Regions from separate parts of the Homo sapiens genome. Here region 2 is linked to region 1. Evidence: promoter capture Hi-C in 16 types of primary human blood cells and fetal thymus (Javierre and others, 2016). All regions are on one chromosome and are shown on one strand. Each heading gives the region's core, a stretch centred on a gene start or on the middle of the fragment in contact. The rest is flanking DNA. Distances are from core to core; before and after follow the strand shown. Region 1 holds the start of GPR6 (G protein-coupled receptor 6). Region 2 holds the start of LOC105377936 (a long non-coding RNA gene).

Region 1 (6,021 bases), core at 2,446-4,945:
TACCTCATGAGGTCGGAGGTATATATCTTGGAATTCTGTCTTGGAAGAATTTATTCATTTTACAAGCCTGTGCATTTTACTACAAGATCTGGCCAGCGACAATGTATTAAGTCAACATGAATTTTAGACATTTAAAATTCTTGCCATACTGGAAAAATTACAAATGAAAGTTGTGGTTTCAGGATTCACAAGTGCACAGGGAATGAGAGGAAGATATGTTTTCGGACATCCTCGGATACTTGTTTTCCAAACCCACTAACCAAGGGAGTAGACTAAATTGCACAGATAACACCAGTAACCCTTTGTTGTCCTGTGAATACTGCCACATGAATATATTACTCCCTTCCTGCACCCTCCCTCCCCAACCACAATGATATAAATTTGGTATTTCAGTGAAAGTTTATGAACAATGTGCAAATGCATATGATTTTTTTACGTTAAGGTTTTCTCAGGAGAATGATGCTACATAATAAACTTGCAATTGCAAGGATACGGAACCAACCTACTTGCCCTTCAACCAAGGATTGGATAAAGAAAAGATGATAGATAGATGATAGATAGATAGATAGATAGATAGATAGATAGATAGATAGATAGATATAGATATAGATATACTATGGAATACTACTCAGCCATAAAAAGGAGTGAAATAATGTCTTTTTCAGCAACCTGGATGAAGCTGGAGGCCATTATTCTAAGTGAAGTAACTCAAGAATGAAAAATCAAATACAATATGATCTCCCTTATAAGTGGGAGCTAAGCTATGAGGACACAAAACCATATAGAGTGATATAATGGACTGTGGGGACTTGCAGTGGGGAGAGGTTGGGAGGGAGGTGAGGGATAAAAGATTACATATCAGGTACAGTGTACACTGCTCAGGTGACAGGTGCACTAAAATCTCAGAATTCACTACTAAAGAACTCATCTATGTAACCAAAAAAGGCACCTGTACCCTCAAAACTACTGAAATTTTAAAAACTTAAAAAAATAAATAAAGTAAGGTGAGTGCTGTGGCATGCCTGTAGTCCCAGCTACTAGGGATGCTAAAGCAGGATTTCTTGGGCCCAGGAGTTCAAGGCTGCACTGAGCTATGATTGTGCCACTGCATTCAGGCCTGGGCGACAGAGTGAGACTCTATCTCGAACAAACGAAAGAGAAAGAAAGAAAGCAAGAGAAAGCAAGCAAGCAAGAAAGAAAGAAAGGAAGAAAGAAAGGAAAGAAAGACACTCATACACTTACAATTCAGCTAATTGTAATTCTATAGTCAGTGACATACCCCAAATTACATTCTTGTAATGGGTTTATTCGTGTACAAAACATGTTGTAATTTGTTGATGCATGTGCAGCAAAATATTCTATCACATACGACAAAAATACACCTTTTACTCCCTTTTCCCTGCCCTTGAAAATGGCAACACTGTTTTGGCAGTTCAGCAGCTAAAAATAAAGTGCTATAATTAAGCAGTATTGGAATGTCTTCGTTTGACAAACGTGATGTACAATTTGAGTATACAACCATATCTTTTTCTTGGTTTTTCACAGAATAGGAAGCTCCACATCCTGAACACCTCCAGAAGATACAAATATTTGTATATATATGTACACATGTATACACTGTATATGTAAAGTGCCAACAAGCCTCTTTGTCCTTGTAAGTTTGTTACATTTCTCTTTAGTCCCTTTTTCTTTCCAAAGTCAGACTCACACCATTGGGATCTCAGAGTTCGTCAGCAGGCACCGAGCTTACCAAAGGCTGGCTTGTTGGGGTGTGGTGTTGGTGAGAGGACACGGGGCGAGCCCTTCAGACCTCGCTGGGAGACCTGGAACGAAAGGGCACTTTGGACTGGAAACAGCCACAGAGCAGGAGCCACAGGGCGCGCTGGATCTCCTGGTTGCGGAAGGCATAGATGATGGGATTGATCATGGAGTTGTAGGTGGCGGGCAGCAGGGTGGCGTAAGTGTAGACCGCCGGGTCCTCATGGCTGCCCACCACGCAATAGATGGCGAAGGGCAGCCAGCTGGCGCCGAAAGTGCCCAGCACCACAGCCAGTGTACCCACACCCTTTCTGGTGGCAGCGAGATGGGGTGGCGCCAGGCAGTGCTGCTGCAGCGCGATCTGGTGCGCGTGGCGCCAGACCACCTGGCAGATGCGCACGTACAGGTGCAGCATGATGCCGAAGACCATGAAGAAGGCGGCGGAGAGCAGAGCCACGTGGCTGCGCGCCAGCGGGCGCACCACGCTGCAGGCGGCGCGCTCTGCCAGGCAGTTCCAGCCCAGCACGGGCAGCAGCCCCAGGCCTAGGGACACGGTCCAAGTGGCGGCAAGCAGGAGGTGCACGCCCAACAGGGTCCGGCGCGAGTAATAGGTGAGCGCGTTATACAGGGACAGGTAGCGGTCCACCGTAATGGCCAGCAGGCTGCTGACAGAGGCGGCGAAGGAGGCCACGAGGAAGCCCACCGTGAGCAGACTCACAGTCTCCGAGGGCACCAAGTACTGGAACACAAAGTGCAAGATGAGGCCACAGCCCGCCAACAGGTCAGCGGTGGCCAGGCTGCCTACCAGCACGAACATGGGCGTGCGCAGCGCCGGAGTGGACGCGATGAGCGCCACCACCAGCGCGTTTTCTCCAGCGATCACTGTCCCCGACACGCACAGGAGCACGTCCCACGGATTCACCGCTGGCAGCAGGAGTCCCGGTGGCCCAGCCGACAGCTGCGAGGACAGCTCCAGAGACCCATTAGCTCCGCCGCCGGCTCCTAGAGCCGCCGCAGCAGGGGGTCCCCATTCGCCCGTGTCCGGCCCCCCTGCTGCTGTGGCCGCCGCCGCCGCTCCTTCGGCCGCCACTACCACCACCTGGGAGTCGTTGAGCGAGGCGGCGCTCGCGTTCATCGCGGCCGGATTTGCACCCTGCATAGGGAGGGAGTGCAGGCGTCAGGTGTACACTTCAGGCTGCCAGGAAACTTCCCCACGCGTAGAGCCTCCTCTCGCATTGCCCCACTTGAGTTGCCCACCCCACCCTGGGACCCCAGAGCAAATCGGGGAATCATGGGTTAAGTGCGAACCCAAAATAAATACCTGTTGAGTGAGTGAGTGAAATGCCCACGCGGACTTCTGAGTTTTTGCAGATATACACCAGGACAACATGCACTCACATGCACAAGGATCAATTCTCCAAGGCTGCCTGTATTTGCACACGCACCCGAGTGCACCAAGCTAGGAGTGTCATCCTGGGAGAGTCCCGCCTGGGTTGTGGCGGCGCGACCAGGACATCCCCATGGGGCTGGGCAGCAGAGACGCTGTCCGCGGTGCTGAAAGCGAAGTTTCTGGCATTGCGAAGCCTGGAGAGTCCTGGAGCCCAGAGACCCCTGCGAAGGGGGTCTGGGAGGAGAGACTAGGGTGTGTGTATGGGGGCAGCAGAGGGTGGGAGTCAAGGTTGGCTCCATTTCTCCTCTTCTGGAAAGACCTGTCCCCTGGATATCTTTCTCCCCTCCTCTCCCCACATCCTCAAAGTTCCCTGGGAACTCGGCCACTCACCTGGGGCGTCAGGACTTCTGGAAGTCGCTGGTCATGGGCGCCGAGGCGGGGCGCCGGGCTGAGCTCCCCGCGCAAACAGAGCAGCTGCCTGCAGGAGGCGGCCGGGCCGGGGAGGAGGCAAGCGCGGGGCGCCTGTCGCTGTGCCGGCTCCGCGAGTGAGAGATACAGTTGGTGGCAGAAAAGGCGGCTGCGAGCGGCGCGCGCTGCAGATTGACAGGCAGGGCGTGGTGACGTCAGGCTCCCGGCTCCCGGTGCGAGCCCAGCACTCACTCTCCTCGCCAGCCCATCCTGTGCCCTCCCCGCCGCACTCCCCCTGCCCCCAACACTATCTGAGGGTCCTAGGAGGGAGGAGAAGCCAGAGCAACCACCTCCAGTCCAGAACTTCCAGGAATGGGATGGGAGAGAGACAAGGAGAGGTAGAAAGGAGTGAAGAAGACCCTGAGACCAGGCGGCGAAGAGGGTGAGCTGGGAGGGGAGGGGTGAAGGATGAGTGACACCTGCCGGGCAGCAAAGCCCAGCGTCAAAGATCACTGAGGGATCAGGTCAAAAAAGAAACCCCGGAGAAGGGGGAGGTTGGGACAGGGGTGTTTGATGGGAAAGTAGCTACCTTTAAAAAAAAATGCCGTTCCCGAAACAGGAATTATCTGGGAAAAGAAATTCACTTTTTAAAAATTTTATTTATTTATTTATTGAGACAGAGTCTCACTCTGTCGCCCAGGCTGGAGTGTAGTCGCCCGATCTCGGCCCACTGCAACCTCTGTCTCCTGGGTTCTAGCGATTCTCCTGCCTCAGCCTCCCCAGTAGCTGGAATTACAGATGTACGCCACCACGCCCAGCTAATTTTTGTAGAGATGGGGTTTCGCCATGTTGGTCAGGCTGGTCTCGAACTCCTGACCTCGTGTGATCCACCCGCCTCGGCCTCCCAAAGTGCTGTTATTACAGGTGTGAGCCACCTCACCAGGCCTGAAATCCAATTTTTAAAAAGGATGTTTGTGGTACATGCTCAGTTGAGTAGAGTCAGGGAAGAAATTCTGAGTTATGGGGAGCAGTTAAAAGATGGATAAGACAGGGACATCTGAGGAAAACAATCTCTTCTTTTGGAGGTTGCCTGTGCAATTCCTCTCTTTCCCATTATCTTTTCTGAACTCTACACAGCAGGTTTCACTGTGACCTTTTCGGCCCATGTTTTCCCGATTTCGGTAGCTGATATCGCCCTTGGAACTTGCGCTTTAATTAAAGACCAGGTCTGCATCTTGCTAGAGAAAAGGAAAACAGCAAAATGTGATTTACTTTCTTGGCTTCAGACTTTGCCCTGTTAATTAGTACCCTATAAAACAAATTACAGGACGAAAATCGTGATAACTCAGCTGCACCAGACTTCAGTAGGCAGGAGTTTTATTTTCAGCCCAGATAAATCATCCTTTTGTTTTAAAGGTGTTTTGTTTTGTCAGTAAGATACGAATATTAGTCTTCTTATTCTCTTTCTTCTCCCAGAATGTGCAGTAGCTGTACCTGGGCAAGAGCTAAAATAGTTGATGCCATCTGAGGTTCTAAAATAGATGATTGCACATTGGCATGATGGCATTGCACAGAGGCCACAGCCATACTTTTCAGGGACCACATGGTCTGGGAAAAGTGAAAATTGGCAACATTTGTTGCTAGTGCTCCCCCTACTTCTCCCTGTGGACCCTTTCCTCCCTTCACTTTGCCTCTAGCTCCAAAGAGGGGAAAAAAGATATTCAGACTGTCCATGGGTTGGAGGATAAGTTTACCCTAGGTTGCTGCCTTTAAACATGACCCCCAAGTCCAGACTATTCCTGCCTCAATGCAGCCAACTTAATTACAAGAACAAGGGACATATGACAGTTCAATTATTTGGTGCAATAGCTGATGTTGGACAGAAAGTGAGTTTACACACAATTTATCCATTTGGAGAGCTTAAAAAAATCCACACACCACTATTTTCTTGAACCCAAAACTTGGCTGAAGTTCTAAATTTCTGAAAAGAGCCGTTTTGTGTTTCGGTACAAGATTGTCATCTAAGAGTCAAGAATGTTATTTCAGAGCTGTCAAGTGAGCCGTCAAACCACTGTAACAGCATGTTAACTGAGGATTTTCCAAATGATCAGATAAAAGCCCAAGGGGAGGAGAATCCTCCTTAATATCTAAGTATGTTCCATTTTCACATGCCACAATGTAGCAGAAAGTATGAGGTTAAAATTGAACCTACCACAGGATCTCTGAATATCCTTAGGCTTCAACATTACCAAGAATGGATTTCTCAGTGATTTCCAGAGGAAGACAACACATGTAGAATCATGTACATAAATGATGGTTGAGGATATGTAGACTGACTTTGAGTGATGCCAATCTGTGGTTACCTCTTTTGGATGCTAGACTAGGTCCTGGGCAGACAGAGCATGTTCTTTCAAACTCCTCCTTATCTCCCCTATATCCACCCATATTTTGGAAGGTAGAAGATG
Region 2 (6,941 bases), core at 698-3,197, 440 kb before region 1:
TTTCTTTATTGGGGCAGGGTGCAGTGGCTTATGCCCATAATTCCAGCACTTTGGGAGGCTGAGGCAGGTGGATCACTTGAGGCCAGGAATTCGAGACCAGCCTGGCCAACATGGTGAAACCCCATCTCTACTGAAAATACAAAAAAACTAGCCAGGCATGGTGGTGTACACCTGTAAGCCCAGCTACTCAGGAGGCTGAGGCAGGAGAATTCCTCAAACCTTGGAGGCAGAGGTTGTAGTGAACCGAGATCATACCATTACACTCCAGCCTGGGCAACTCTGTCTAAAAAAAAAAAAAAAAAAAAAAAAAAAAAATTTCTTTTTCTTTACTGGAAGAAAAATTAGGCTTTTTGTTTGTTGTAAAAATTCACAAATGTTTATCGTGCAGGAAGCCAAACATACTTTGTTCCTTCAGCATTTCTTAATATGTGTAACCTTCTGATTTTATACTTGGAAAATGGTGATGATCTATAATAGTTGGAACCTAGTCATAACACATCCGATCTGTCTCTGATTGCAAATATTTCAAGGAGTACTTTACCATAGCATTACAATGAATGGAGGACAAACCACACACAAGTAGGTAAGATTCAGATAGGTGACCTTGTTTCTCAGTTCTATGTCACTGAGGTTAATGCACTAACTTGACTTTGACAGGCTACGAAGTGTGAGAGGCAATGGAAGCCTGGAAATAAAAAAGCCCTGACTATAAGCATTCCTGCTTAAGCAAACCAATCTCTCTTTACCCCAATCTTCTCATTTGGAAATTCAGGATTATCATACAATGTCCCTCTGGGAATGGGAAAATTAAATGAAATAATATATCAACACCATTTAACGCCACTCTGCACAGTCCCGATATTTTACAAGGCTATTTCTCCATTCACTGTATGTGATTCCACCCTCATTAGGTGTCCTGCCCAGTCTTGGTCTTGGCCAGTGGGCATGGGGGCCCCGTCTATCAGTGCTCCACATGTGTCGCTGTCCTGACTGTGCCCTACCACACACTGTTGTCCTCCCTCATGGACTCTGCAGTTTAGCTACCTGGAGATACTTCTGCAGTTTCCCTTTTGCTCCAGTGGTTAGTTCCAGTCCATGATAGCTGTAGGCAAGACTCACTGAAGCTAATGACGCATAAACTTCAGGCTCCTTCAGTTGGACAGGCTCCTGTGATGGAGCGTAGTAATGGGTCCACTTGGACATAAGCTTTCACAGAATTTTGTACATTTTGCAAAAGTAAGATCTAGTCACTACAATCAGCTGAGACCATCATATTTTTCCACTTGGTTTTCCCTTCTATCACATTCCTCCTCTGCCAGATGTTATCAAAGTGGTCACAGGCATTCTTTTCTTTTGTGATTTTGTATTTTTTTCCTCTTAAAAGGGCTCTTGAAACTGTACAAACTTCAGACCCCACAAAAGCTGAATCTTTCCCCTGAATCACTGTTAAAAGGTGTGTTGTTAGGGAGGTTCATACTCAAAATATGCTCCGAATGTACTCAATTAAATGCTCTGTTCTGAGGGGCCCACCTGTGCCCTTTCTCTCATTCCTATCAAATATGTAACGAAAACATACTAAGTGCAAAATGGTGTAGGCAAAGCAGGTACTTAATAAATTCTTGTATATGGTGAAGAGGAGTATTTTCTTATCGAAGATGGTAAAGCTGACTATGGCAGCCAACGTCTTTGGCAACTTCCCCCAACAGAATGTCTGGAAGTTTCGATGTTTGTTGTTTTACTTGAATTTGCCAGAAGTCAGTGATGGCTGCTGTTTTTATGTCTGAAGTCTACAGTGCACCAACGTTTCACTGGCAACTGCTTGTTCTCTAAGTAAACTTTTTTTTAATTCCCAGCCTCTCTCTGGGCTCACCCATGCCAGTTGGTGTCAGCCATTCTGCTGAAATTGAGGATCTGAAGAACATCTTAAGCAATTCTTGGGTAAAAGATCCACTGTCAGAGATTTTATCTGTAGGAACAAGTTGGGGGAGCAGGTGGTCAGCATGCTACCTGATTCTTGATTAGTTAGCAGTTTCAGGGGAGCAGGTCAAAAGTACACCAACCCACCCTGGTCAATGTTTAACTAGAATTCTCCATAAAGCCTGGCTTATAATCTCATTAACCCTATGAGGACGATTTCACTGTCCTACTTCCCTGCCCCAAACTGCTGTACACATGGGAATCCCTGGCCCCTGAGCCTGATATCTTCAATAGTCTTCTGATGAACGCAGGCTTAGGTCCTGCATTTACTGGCCACAGACACACCAGCAAGGCTAACACCCTGCAAGCCAGAAACACCCATGGAGAGCACAGCAAGAGGGGGAGGGTGGCTAGAGAGACCCTAAATGTGCTGCAGAGGTGAGGCCCTGGGGACCTCTGCAGCCCAAGTTTAAAAGTCTCCGAAGAAGCGTTGGGAAGATGATGAAGCCCAGCTCCCCTGCAGTCTCAGGGAGATCACGTCAACACTTCAGACCCCAACCACTAACCTGGAAAACAACACTAGATTCTCCCCAGGTGGTTCCTGAGGCCCCTTTTAGAAGTTACCCTCAATGATACCTAAATCAGTTTTCCCATCCATTTTCTGAAGGACCCTTCACTTAAGTCATAGTGCTAGAGCTCTGCGTTTAAAAAAAAAAAAAGGATTTATTAGTCCTATCTGTATAGACTCTGCACTACTACAGAGAAGCTTTCTTTCTGGGTTTCATTTCTGAGTATGTCCTCCTCTTCTTGCTTTTCAGGAAAACATGGAGTCCTAACCTGGGCGGGAGGAAGAAAGAGCCTTCTCAGATCTCTTCCGTGGCTCCCATTACTTTTTGAACACAGTCTTGCATCCTAGCCAGATTTCCAGCACTTTCACACCCTGGTCTTGCACAAACCTCCCCATGAACCCCCTTCTCTTTCCTCAGGTCACTTTGAACTTCCTGCCTCTGTGGCTTTGTCTCTCCAGAGATTTTTCTCCCTCCTCTTGTTTGTCCATCGAAATCCCACTGATTGATTAGGGCCTTCCTCACTTCCCATGTACGCTCCTGGACTAGCCACTTGGGTCCACTGTACTCCTCTCTCTCCTGATCCTTCCCAGCACCTGCAGTATGTGCTGTTGGTTAGAGGACAGTCTTATTCTGCCTTGTTTCCTTTCTTGAGGGAGCAAACATCTCAGAAGTTCTTAAATCTTTTATAGCCCTTGCAGTATGTCTTGGACAAAGTGGCTGCTCCATAAATGTTTGTTGATTGATTTTTATAGTAGGTGCTCAATAAAATATGTATACCACCTGTGATACTGGGAACTATGTATTTGGTCTTCATTCCCATTTCCTGACATATAGCTCCTAAAACCCTTGGAATCCTCAGAGTGATAAGAGTGTCTTTTGTATGCTAATGAGATATCTGGTGGCTGGAGCCCTGTAGTAAGCTTCAGGATGGGAGCTGGTCATCTGGAAATGACAAGACATGATTAGAGAGTGGGGACTTTCAGCCCTATCCCCAACCTCTAGGGAGAAGGGGTTGAAGGTTAAGTTGGTCACTAGTGGCCAATGTTTTAACCATCATGTCTACATAATAAAGCTTTCATTAAAAAAAAAAAAGGAAAAACACAAGACTGTGTTTAGGGAGCTTCCAGATGGCTGAATATGTGGAGGTTCCTGGACGTTGTGCCCCCAGAGAGGGCACGGGAGCTCCTTGCCCGTTCCCATATGCCTAGCCCTGGCCCTCTCTTCCACATGGCTCTTCATCTGCATCCTTTGTAATATCCATATTAATAAATGGGTAAAGGTAAGCAAAGTGTTCTTTTGAGTTCTGGAGCCACTCTAGCAAATTGAACCATTATTAATTGAACCTGAAAAGGGGCTTGTAGGGACCCCGATTTATAGCCCACCAGTCAGAAACCCACAACCTGGGGCTTGTGATTGGCATCCAAAGTAGGGTAAGTCTTGTGGGACTGAGCCCTTAACCTGTGGGATCTGACACTATCTCCAGGTAGCTGGTGTCAGAATTGAATTGAATTAGAGGACATGCAGCTGAAGTGTCTGCTAGGGAATCTGCAGAATGGGATGCTTGGTGTGTAGGGAGACAACCCCCACACACCTGGTCACAGAAAGTGTTCTGTATTCAGTGACTGTGACAGTATTGAGCATAGCCAGAGAAAAAGTTGCTTTTCCCCACCACCCCCTCACCGGCCCTCAGACCACCTTACAAAGAATTGTACATATCTCAACTTATCAGAGACCTACAACAACTTGCAAGGGATTCTTAGTTCATTCTCAGTTTTCAGATGGGCAATCCAACTCAGAAGTCAGGTGATTTGCTCAAGGTAAAAATGCAGGTCTCTTGAAACCAAAGTTTGTGTTTTGGTTAAGGGCTTGAGCTTTGGCTGGGCACAGTGGCTCAAGCCTGTAATCCCAGCACTTTGGGAAGCCGAGGCGGGCAGATCACAAGGTCAGGAGATCGAGACCATCCTGGCTAACATGTTGAAACCCCGTCTCTGCTAAAAATACAAAAAATTAGCCAGGTGTGGTGGCGGGCGCCTGTAGTCCCAGCTACTAGAGAAGCTGAGGCAGGAGAATGGCATGAAACCAGGAAGCAGAGCTTGCAGTTAGCTGAGATAGAGCCACTGCACTCCCGCCTGGGTGACAGAGCGAGACTCCATCTCAAAAAAAAAAAAAAAAAAAAAAAAGAGCTTGAGCCTTGACGTCAGATATCCAGACTGGATTTTACCATTTAAGAGACCCTGGACCCTTCCTTACTGTCTTGGAGCCTCAATGTACTCATATACAAAATGGGGATAGTGATAATAGTACCTACTTCATAGGGTGGTTGTGATATATGATGTCATACATGTGTCTAGCACATGGTTAATGCTACATATACATTATTGAAAATATTATTGTCACTAATTTGACACATCACACTGCCTCCCTGGAAACAAACTTGTTAACTGTGCCTCATGCCTAGAGCTCAGTAGACACTCATCAAATATTGAATCCCTTCTTTGAATATGTGGGCTAAATCAGGGATCCCAAATCCCCAGGCCACAGACCACTACCAGTCCGTGGCCTGTTAGGAACTGGCCTCACAGCAGGAGGTGAGCCGTGGGTGAGCAAGCAAAGCTTTGTCTTCATTTATACCCACTCCCTATCATTTGCATTACTGCCTGAGCTCTGCCTCTTGTCAGATCAGCTGAGGCACTAGATTCTTATAGGAGCACAAACCTACTGTAAACTGCGCACACAAGGGATCCAGTTTGTGTGCTCTTTATGAGAATCTAATGCCTGATGATCTGTCACTGCCTCCCATTACTTTCAGAGAAAACCATCTAATTGCAGGAAAACAAGCTCAGGGCTCCCACTAATTCTACATTATGTTGAGTTGTATAATTATTTCATTATATATTACAACGAATAATAATAAAAATAAAGTGCACAGTAAATGTAACACACTTGAATCATCCTGAAACCATCTCCCCATCCCCAGTCTGTGGAAAAATTGTCTTCCATGAAACCAGCCCCTGGTGCCTAAAAGGCTGGGGACTGCTGGGCTAAAGAATCATGTGGTTCTATCCTAGATTATCTCCTGAATAGTGTTTCCAGCTCCAATCAATCAACAACATTACTCAGCCCTCACCCCCTCCTTCCTGCTTCCCCCACCAGCTGACCCAGCAGAGCCAGGCACCCGGCTAACTGTGGGCAGCCAAACGAGGTTGGAAGTTGGACAGGCTCACCCATTATTCACCATACCTACAAATCAGCTGGAGAAAGCCCAGGCTGGCGGCCAGACAGAGGGCTCGTGGGCCAGAAAGGGAAGGGCTTGGCAGAGACAGCGCCATGGAGATGACAGGTTGAGGTCACTTGCTCCTTTCTCCGGGGCAATGGGTGACAGAGACAGCCATGCAGGCCAATGGAAAGGAAGACCAGGGGGAATGTCCTGAATCAAGTCACCAATGGGAATCAGTTTCGCTTTCTCTCTGTCTCTCAGGGCATGAGACCAGCCAGGCACTGGGAAACAAGGTTTGGTGCCAGAGATTTTGGTGGCTTCCAAGACTGCTTTTTCAGAGACAGGTACTTGAATTCTTGCTTTCAGCTGAGGGGTCGTTCCGTCCATGCTCTGGGAGTTTGGGAGTGTGTCTGAATAGGGTCAGGGGACAGTGATGGACAGGCCACTGTGCCAGGACACACCACATTGCTCGCTCACTCCTCCTCCCTGGCAGCTGGTTATTCTTAGCCACAGATTGCTTGCCCTTTCAACTTAGTTTATTAGAGCTGTTTTGAGAGAGTTGCTGGACATGGGAGGCTGATGTGAAACAGCGAAGTCAATAAGGTCACTGGTGGCTGCAGGACAGCTCTACTCAAGCTGGCCCCCACCAGACTGCTCTGGCCTGGGCCCGTTCCCTTCTCTTCCCTCAGCCCTGGCAGGCCCACTCTCTCTCAGCTGACCAGCCCACTGTACAGCAATCAAATTAACGTATCAAATTAGCACAGAAATGCATAGACTGCTCGAGGAATAGGAATATCACACTAAACTTCATTGGAGGGCTTTAAAGTCTCATAGTGCGAGAATCTTCAGAACTGGAAGAGAAAGCAGAGGCCACTAACAACCAAGCCCACGTTTTTCCTGCCAACAGCCCTTGCTGAGGAAGCTGCCCAGCCTTCCAGAGGAAAGGTGAACCTCTGTGTGTGGGTGGCCATGGTTTGTACCATGTGGCCCAGTACCCTGATTACTGTGCTTTGGACAGAGAAGGGCAACTATGCCAAGGGCACATTCAGAGGCTGGTTTAGCCCAGCAAGTTGGCCTGGTGCTAGAATTTTGTCCAACAGGGGATGCAATGACCAACTGGTACAACTGCATTTTCTCTCTCTGGAGTTTAAACCTGAGCCATACAGAAAGAGTCAGAGCAGGAACAGATGGGGAAAGCCAAAAACAGGGAAGCAAAGGCAGGCGGGGATGCTGACAGT

What was found. Contacts are between HindIII fragments. The CHiCAGO score rates a contact against its expected background, and 5 or more counts as called.
Region 2: a contact is called between a fragment that was not itself captured here and the fragment with the promoter of GPR6 in region 1, in 2 of 17 cell types (non-activated CD4 T cells and total B cells). The highest score is 5.8, in non-activated CD4 T cells.

Annotation. Positions count from the first base shown.
Region 1 is chr6:109,975,985-109,982,005 of GRCh38, reverse strand. GPR6 (G protein-coupled receptor 6) reads right to left here and starts at 3,695. Exons shown (of 2, transcript NM_005284.5): 1 at 3,539-3,695; 2 at 1,286-2,911. The coding sequence starts at 2,893. The coding sequence ends at 1,805. RefSeq lists an enhancer at 2,459-3,264 and a silencer at 3,203-3,366. The HindIII fragment of the contact is 13,256 bases long and covers 1-6,021 here.
Region 2 is chr6:110,414,573-110,421,513 of GRCh38, reverse strand. It overlaps LOC105377936 (a long non-coding RNA gene), which reads right to left and starts at 5,870. Exons shown (of 2, transcript XR_942856.2): 1 at 5,727-5,870; 2 at 1,384-1,966. It overlaps DDO (D-aspartate oxidase), which reads left to right and starts at 5,939. Exons shown (of 5, transcript NM_001372108.2): 1 at 5,939-6,047. The HindIII fragment of the contact is 1,477 bases long and covers 1,209-2,685 here.